Regions from separate parts of the Homo sapiens genome. Here region 1 is linked to region 2. Evidence: promoter capture Hi-C in 16 types of primary human blood cells and fetal thymus (Javierre and others, 2016). All regions are on one chromosome and are shown on one strand. The core of a region is centred on a gene start or on the middle of the fragment in contact, and the rest is flanking DNA. Distances in the headings are between cores, read along the strand shown. Region 1 overlaps NOP58 (NOP58 ribonucleoprotein). Region 2 holds the start of ORC2 (origin recognition complex subunit 2).

Region 1 (2,838 bases), core at 191-2,690, 1.3 Mb after region 2:
ACCCCTGTAATCCCAACTCTTTGGGAGACCAGGAGTTTGAGACTAGCCTGAGCAACATAGCAAGAAATATGTCTCTCTCTGTGTTTTTTTGTTTGTTTTGTTTTTGTTTTGTTTTTTTTGAGGCAGATTCTCACTCTGTCGCCCAGACTGGAGTGCAGTGGCGTGATCTCTGCTCACTGCAGCCCCTGCCTCCCAGGCTCAAGTGATTTTCTTGCCTCAGCCTCCGAGTAGCTAGGATTACAAGCGTGCACCACTACTGCCCAACTAATTTTTGTATTTTTAGTAGAGACGGGCTTTCACCATGTTGGCCTGGCTGATCTTGAACTCCTGACCTCAAATGATCCATCCGCCTTGGCCTTCCAAAGTGCTGGGATTATAGGCATGAGCCACCACACCCGGCATTTTTTTTTTTTTTTTTTTTTTTTTGAGTCAGGGTCTCACTCTGTTGCTCAGGCTGGGGTGCAGTGGTGCGATCTTGGCTCACTGCAACCTGGACATCCTGGACTCAAACAATGCCACCTCAGCCTCCCAAGTAGCTGGGACTGCAAGTGTGCGCCACCATCCCTGGCTGATTTTTTAACTTTTTGTAGAGACGGGGTTTTGCCATGCTGCCCAGGCTGGAACTCCCAGGCTCAAGTGATCCACTTGCCTTAGCCTCCCAAAGTGCCGCGACTGCAGGGGTGAGCCACCATGCCCAGTCTTCTCCCTATTTTTAATTGCATGTTAACCCTATCATATTTCATTAGAAGTCCCTTAGAATAGGCATTATTGCTATGTTGTGATACATCTGTTCATGAAAAGCTTAATACTTTGGAATTGCACTACAGTTAACAGGGTTGTGAAGAAAATAATGGTAGGTAGTTGCTCAAAACCTGTGCAACTTTGTAATCAGTACTGTCAAATAGTAATCCTAATAAAATTATTACCACAGTTCAAAAGACATTTTAAGCTAATATTAAAAGAAACACTACAGGCTGGGCACGGTGGCTCACGCCTGTAATCCCAACACTTTGGGAGGCCAAGGCAGGCAGATCACAAGGTCAGGAGATCGAGACCACGGTGAAACCTCGTCTCTACTAAAAATACAAAAAATTAGCCGGGCACAGTGGCGGGCGCCTGTAGTCCCAGCTACTTGGGAGGCTGAGGCAGGAGAATGGCGTGAACCCGGGAGGCAGAGCTTGCAGTGAGTGGAGATCGCTCCACTGCAGTCCAGCCTGGGTGACAGAGTGAGACTCCATCTCAAAAAAAAAAAAAAAAAAGGGAGAAAGAAACACTATAGGCCAGGCGCAGTGGCTCACGCCTGTAATACATCCCAGCACTTTGCGAGGCTGAGGCAGGTGAATCATGAGGTCAGGAGATCGAGACCATCCTGGTTAACACAGTGAAACCCCGTCTCTACTAAAAATACAAAAAAATTAGCCAGGCATGGTGGCGGGCGCCTGTAGTCCCAGCTACTCGGGAGGCTGAGGCAGGAGAATGGCGTGAACCCGGGAGGTGGAGCTTGCAGTGAGTGGAGATTGCTCCACTGCACTCCAGCCTGGGTGACAGAGTAAGACTCCGTCTCAAAACAAAACAAAAAAGAAACACTACAATTTAAAAAGGTCTATTTTAAAATTAAAAGGTGGGCATAGATTGAAAGGGTTGAAGCTGCTAAGCTAGAGTTAAGAGCAAAAATGCACAAAGGTTAGGGAGAGCTTTGTAATAAGCATTTCTAAGAGAGAACAAATAGTGAAACTGAGTCAAAAATCCAAACCTGGGTAAATCTGCATTGTGTATAGCAGTGGTTCCCTATCAAGGGCAATCAGATGTCCCCCCAGTAGGCATTTGTCTATGTCCATAGACATTTTTGGTTGTCACAATTGGAGGTGGGTTGGGGTCTGCCATGAGTATCTGGTGGATAAAAGTTAGGGATACTGCTAAAGGTCCTATAATGCACAGGGCAGCCTGTACAACAAGGAATTAGGCCCAAAATATTAATTGTGCTGAGATGAAAAAACATTTTTATACAGACAATATTGTTACTCCACAGCTTTCTGTTTTCAGATGTTAAGAGTCCTGCAAAGTTCCTAACTGGTAGTATAAAGCTTAATATGTGCTATTAAAAATTGCATGAACCAATATGGCTTTTTTTTTTTTTTTTTTTTTGAGGCGGAGTCTTGCTTTGTTGCCCAGGCTGGAGTACAGTGGCACGTGATCTCGGCTCACTGCAACCTCTGCCTCCCCGGTTCAAGCGATTCTCCTGCCTCAGCCTCCAGAGTAGCTGAGATTCAGGCGTGCCCCACCATGCCTGGCTAATTTTTATATTTTTAGTAGAGACAGGGTTTCGCCATGTTGGCCAGGTTGGTCTCGAACTCCTAACAGGTGATCTGCCCACCTCGGCCTCCCAAAGTGCTAGGATTACAAGCGTGAGCCACCACGCCCAGTCCAATATGACTTTTGTATTACACAGCTTATCCTATTTGTCATTCATACATAAACTCATTCATGTTACAGAAATAAAGGTCGTAGCAGCACATATAGTTTTTTTTTTTAATGTGTATTTTCTGTTCTCGTATGGTGCATTTCTACTTAGCTGATTTTTCTTCTTAGAAAAACCAATTACAGCTCTGACTACAGGCTGATTTGAGTAAAAACAAAAACAAAAAAAAACTTTAAGGTGTTAATTTAAATGCTTTTCCTAGATGCTATCTTGCTAATTTATTTTCCCCTTTCTTCCCAGCCTGTCTCGATATAGATTGAAGTTTAGCGCTGATAAAGTAGACACAATGATTGTTCAGGCAATTTGTAAGTATAGTACATGCAAAGTCCGATTTGTTGCTCTGTCCTTCATGCGTTTTC
Region 2 (2,808 bases), core at 278-2,777:
AAGACCTCATGAGAAACGTTTCCTTCTTTGCTTTCCAACAGTTCCTGAAAAACAAACGAACAAAAAAACCTAACAATCACACAATAAAATGCAATATTTAGTGACCATTATGACCCCTCAAGGCACTGCCTTGGTGCTTATAGGCCAACCCCTTTCAAGGAGTTACTTCAAGGCAATTCTGCAGCACCAAGTGTTAGCATTGCACCAAGTGGTAGCAACACACTCTCCTTTGAAAACAAATAAAAGATTTGCTGTAATTTTTAAAAACATAATCCTTTGAAAAAGAAGGTTGGATAGATTAGTGGTTAAACACCAATTTTAATATTGGAGAAACCTGAGTTCCAATCTCCACTCCATACTTTATAACTGTGTGACTTTGTCCAAAGTCCTGACGATTAAATGAAATGATGTGCCTGATATATAAAAGAGCATCACTGAATGCTCCCAATTATCGGTATTTTTACTTTAACCTTTTTCTTTTTTAGCTCCTTACTGCAGTGCACTGAGATATTTTTACTTTAAACTTCAACTTAACCATGCAGATCTCTTGTACATCTCTAACTCATTCAACATCTAACAGAAAAACTGCTCAATAAGTGATGATGTCCGTTTAACGTGCAGTGCCCTTATATAACGGTGTAGGGCCGTGCTATTTTTCTTCAGATTGCAATTTAACTGCGGGAAAGTGTAATGATTCTATTAGGATTTCAATTGTAAAATGAAAAGTAACGTCTCAACATCTTTTTAATTAAAAAGCTCTACCAAAAGAGCCTGGCTTATCAACATTTTACAGCCAAGCATGGCTCCAAGGTGACCGATCAGTTAGCTGGCAGGACACATTGGTGCCTCCAGGCTGGGATGACATCAAAGGTTCTAGCTACAGTGGTTCTGGGACGCGATCTCTTCCTCTTCATACCTCACAGGGCACTTTACCACTGTCGTTACACATCTTCACAGTTCTCCTTTTCCAACCAGAGGGCTTCGTAAGCTGGGAATCAGGTAGGTTAGTATCAGGCGTCCCTTGCACAAAAGGCCTATAACTGCGGGGCAGACTAACGAAAGGTCCTCCCAGAGTGAGCCTCTCACCTCAAGTCTTAAAGGACTTTGGCCTGCGCCTCCAGCCTCTGGCCAGTTGGCTGCGCTCCACCAGTAAGGGTTCTCGAGCCCCCGGGCAGCCTGCGGGGGGCAGCGAGGCGCAAAGACCATGCCCCAAGTGCCGAGGGAAAGTCCTGAGATGCGCGACTTGGGACGCTAGGGGCCAAGCTCCGACGCGGGGCTGGGTGCACCTGGACGCACCTCACACGCCGCGAGCTAAGCAGAAAAGGGAGGCAGGCTGCCCCGACACCCCACTACTCACCGCTAGGTTTCCGTCTGGCGCCGATCCGGCTGCGTCACGCCGGCCGAACGACACCCCGCTGAGTCGCCGCCGCAGGGAAGGTACCTTCGGCCCCAACGGGAAAAGCCAATTTCCAGTAATTCGCGCCCGACCACCGGGGAGGTAAGGAGCACCGGAGGCCAGCTGGGGGATGGGAAGCCTGCGTGCGGCACACCGAATCTCCCGCCCTGTTCAGGGGGCGGTGCCCGAGGAAGCCAATAGGAAGAGGAGTCGGCCAAGAGCGACGGCTCTGCCGTCCAGTCGGCGCCGGCCATTCGGCCCCGCCCATCAGGAAACCTGAGGAAAACGGATTCTTGGGCCCTGAGTTGTGGGCCTTACCTTTCCTTTCTTCTTTCCGTTTCCGGGGAAGGGAAAAGGAAGTGTTGTTTGGATCTGAGGAAGTTTGCACAGTAGCTGGCTGAGTGGTAGCTGTTTGTCTTGTAGCAATCTTTAAAAAGTGTTCTTTGGGGTCGGGCGCAGTGTCTCACGCCTCTAATCCCAGCACCTTGGGAGGCCGAGGCGGGCGAATCACCTGAGGTCGGGAGCTCGAGACCAGTCTGACCGACATGGAGAAACCCCGTCTCTCCTAAAAATACAAAATTAGCCGGGCGTGGTGGCGCATGCCTGTAATACTAGCTACTCGGGAGGCTGAGGCAGGAGAAACGCTTGAACCCGGGAGGCGGACGTTGCAGTGAGCCGAGATCGAGCCATTGCATTCCAGCCTGGGCAACAAGAGCGAAACTCCGTCTCAAAAAAAAAAAAAAAAAAAAAAAAAAGTGTTCATTGGTTTCCCAGCTACCTTTTGAAGAAAAAGGTAATGGAAATTGATTCGCATTTCTTTTTTAAAGATTTTCTTCATTTGGCGTGAAAGGTAGGATCTTGTACATCTCCAGGGTTTGGGGTAGGGAGAAGAAGAGACGTTAGGAGAAGCACTGAATATGGAGATGGGATCGGACGGCTAGTGGGATGAAGAGGCTGGGGAAATAGAATGAATAGACAGAGAAAATGATTGACTTCAACTATCCAAAATATAAAAAAGACAAGACAGAGAAAATGAGGAAGAAAAGGAATGAACCTGGATGGGATCCATACAGTATTAAGAACAGGGTATTGTTTCATTTGGATTCACTTACTCAAAACAAAACTACAGAGTACTCTGCGAACAGAAGATAAGTATTCATTATCGAGCGAGACAACTACGATCTCTGCATTCACTGTAGTTACCTAGCACGTGAAGATATTGAACGGACAATATTGAGAAAAATACCATGATATGGGAAGTGCATTGGAGCACATGGTAGGAGTAGCTAATTAAAAGCCCAGAAGGAGTCAGGAACAATTTTCTAGGAGGAAGAGATGTTTAAACTGAAACCCCTGTGTTGAATAGATTTAAAACAGGCCAAGAGGGGTAAAATTTTCCAGGTAGAAGGTCC

What was found. Contacts are between HindIII fragments. The CHiCAGO score rates a contact against its expected background, and 5 or more counts as called.
Region 1: a fragment that was not itself captured here is called in contact with the fragment with the promoter of ORC2 in region 2 in 1 of 17 cell types (total CD8 T cells); the score reaches 7.9 in total CD8 T cells.

Annotation. Positions count from the first base shown.
Region 1 is chr2:202,284,941-202,287,778 of GRCh38, forward strand. It overlaps NOP58 (NOP58 ribonucleoprotein), which reads left to right. Exons shown (of 15, transcript NM_015934.5): 6 at 2,720-2,784. Among named protein-coding and RNA genes, the nearest start is that of SNORD11B, 5.0 kb to the right of the region's middle. The HindIII fragment of the contact is 1,283 bases long and covers 800-2,082 here.
Region 2 is chr2:200,962,133-200,964,940 of GRCh38, forward strand. It overlaps ORC2 (origin recognition complex subunit 2), which reads right to left and starts at 1,528. Exons shown (of 18, transcript NM_006190.5): 1 at 1,358-1,528. LOC105373835 (a long non-coding RNA gene) reads left to right here and starts at 1,300. Exons shown (of 3, transcript NR_187976.1): 1 at 1,300-1,498. RefSeq lists an enhancer at 761-830 and a silencer at 1,539-1,937. The HindIII fragment of the contact is 10,169 bases long and covers 1-2,808 here.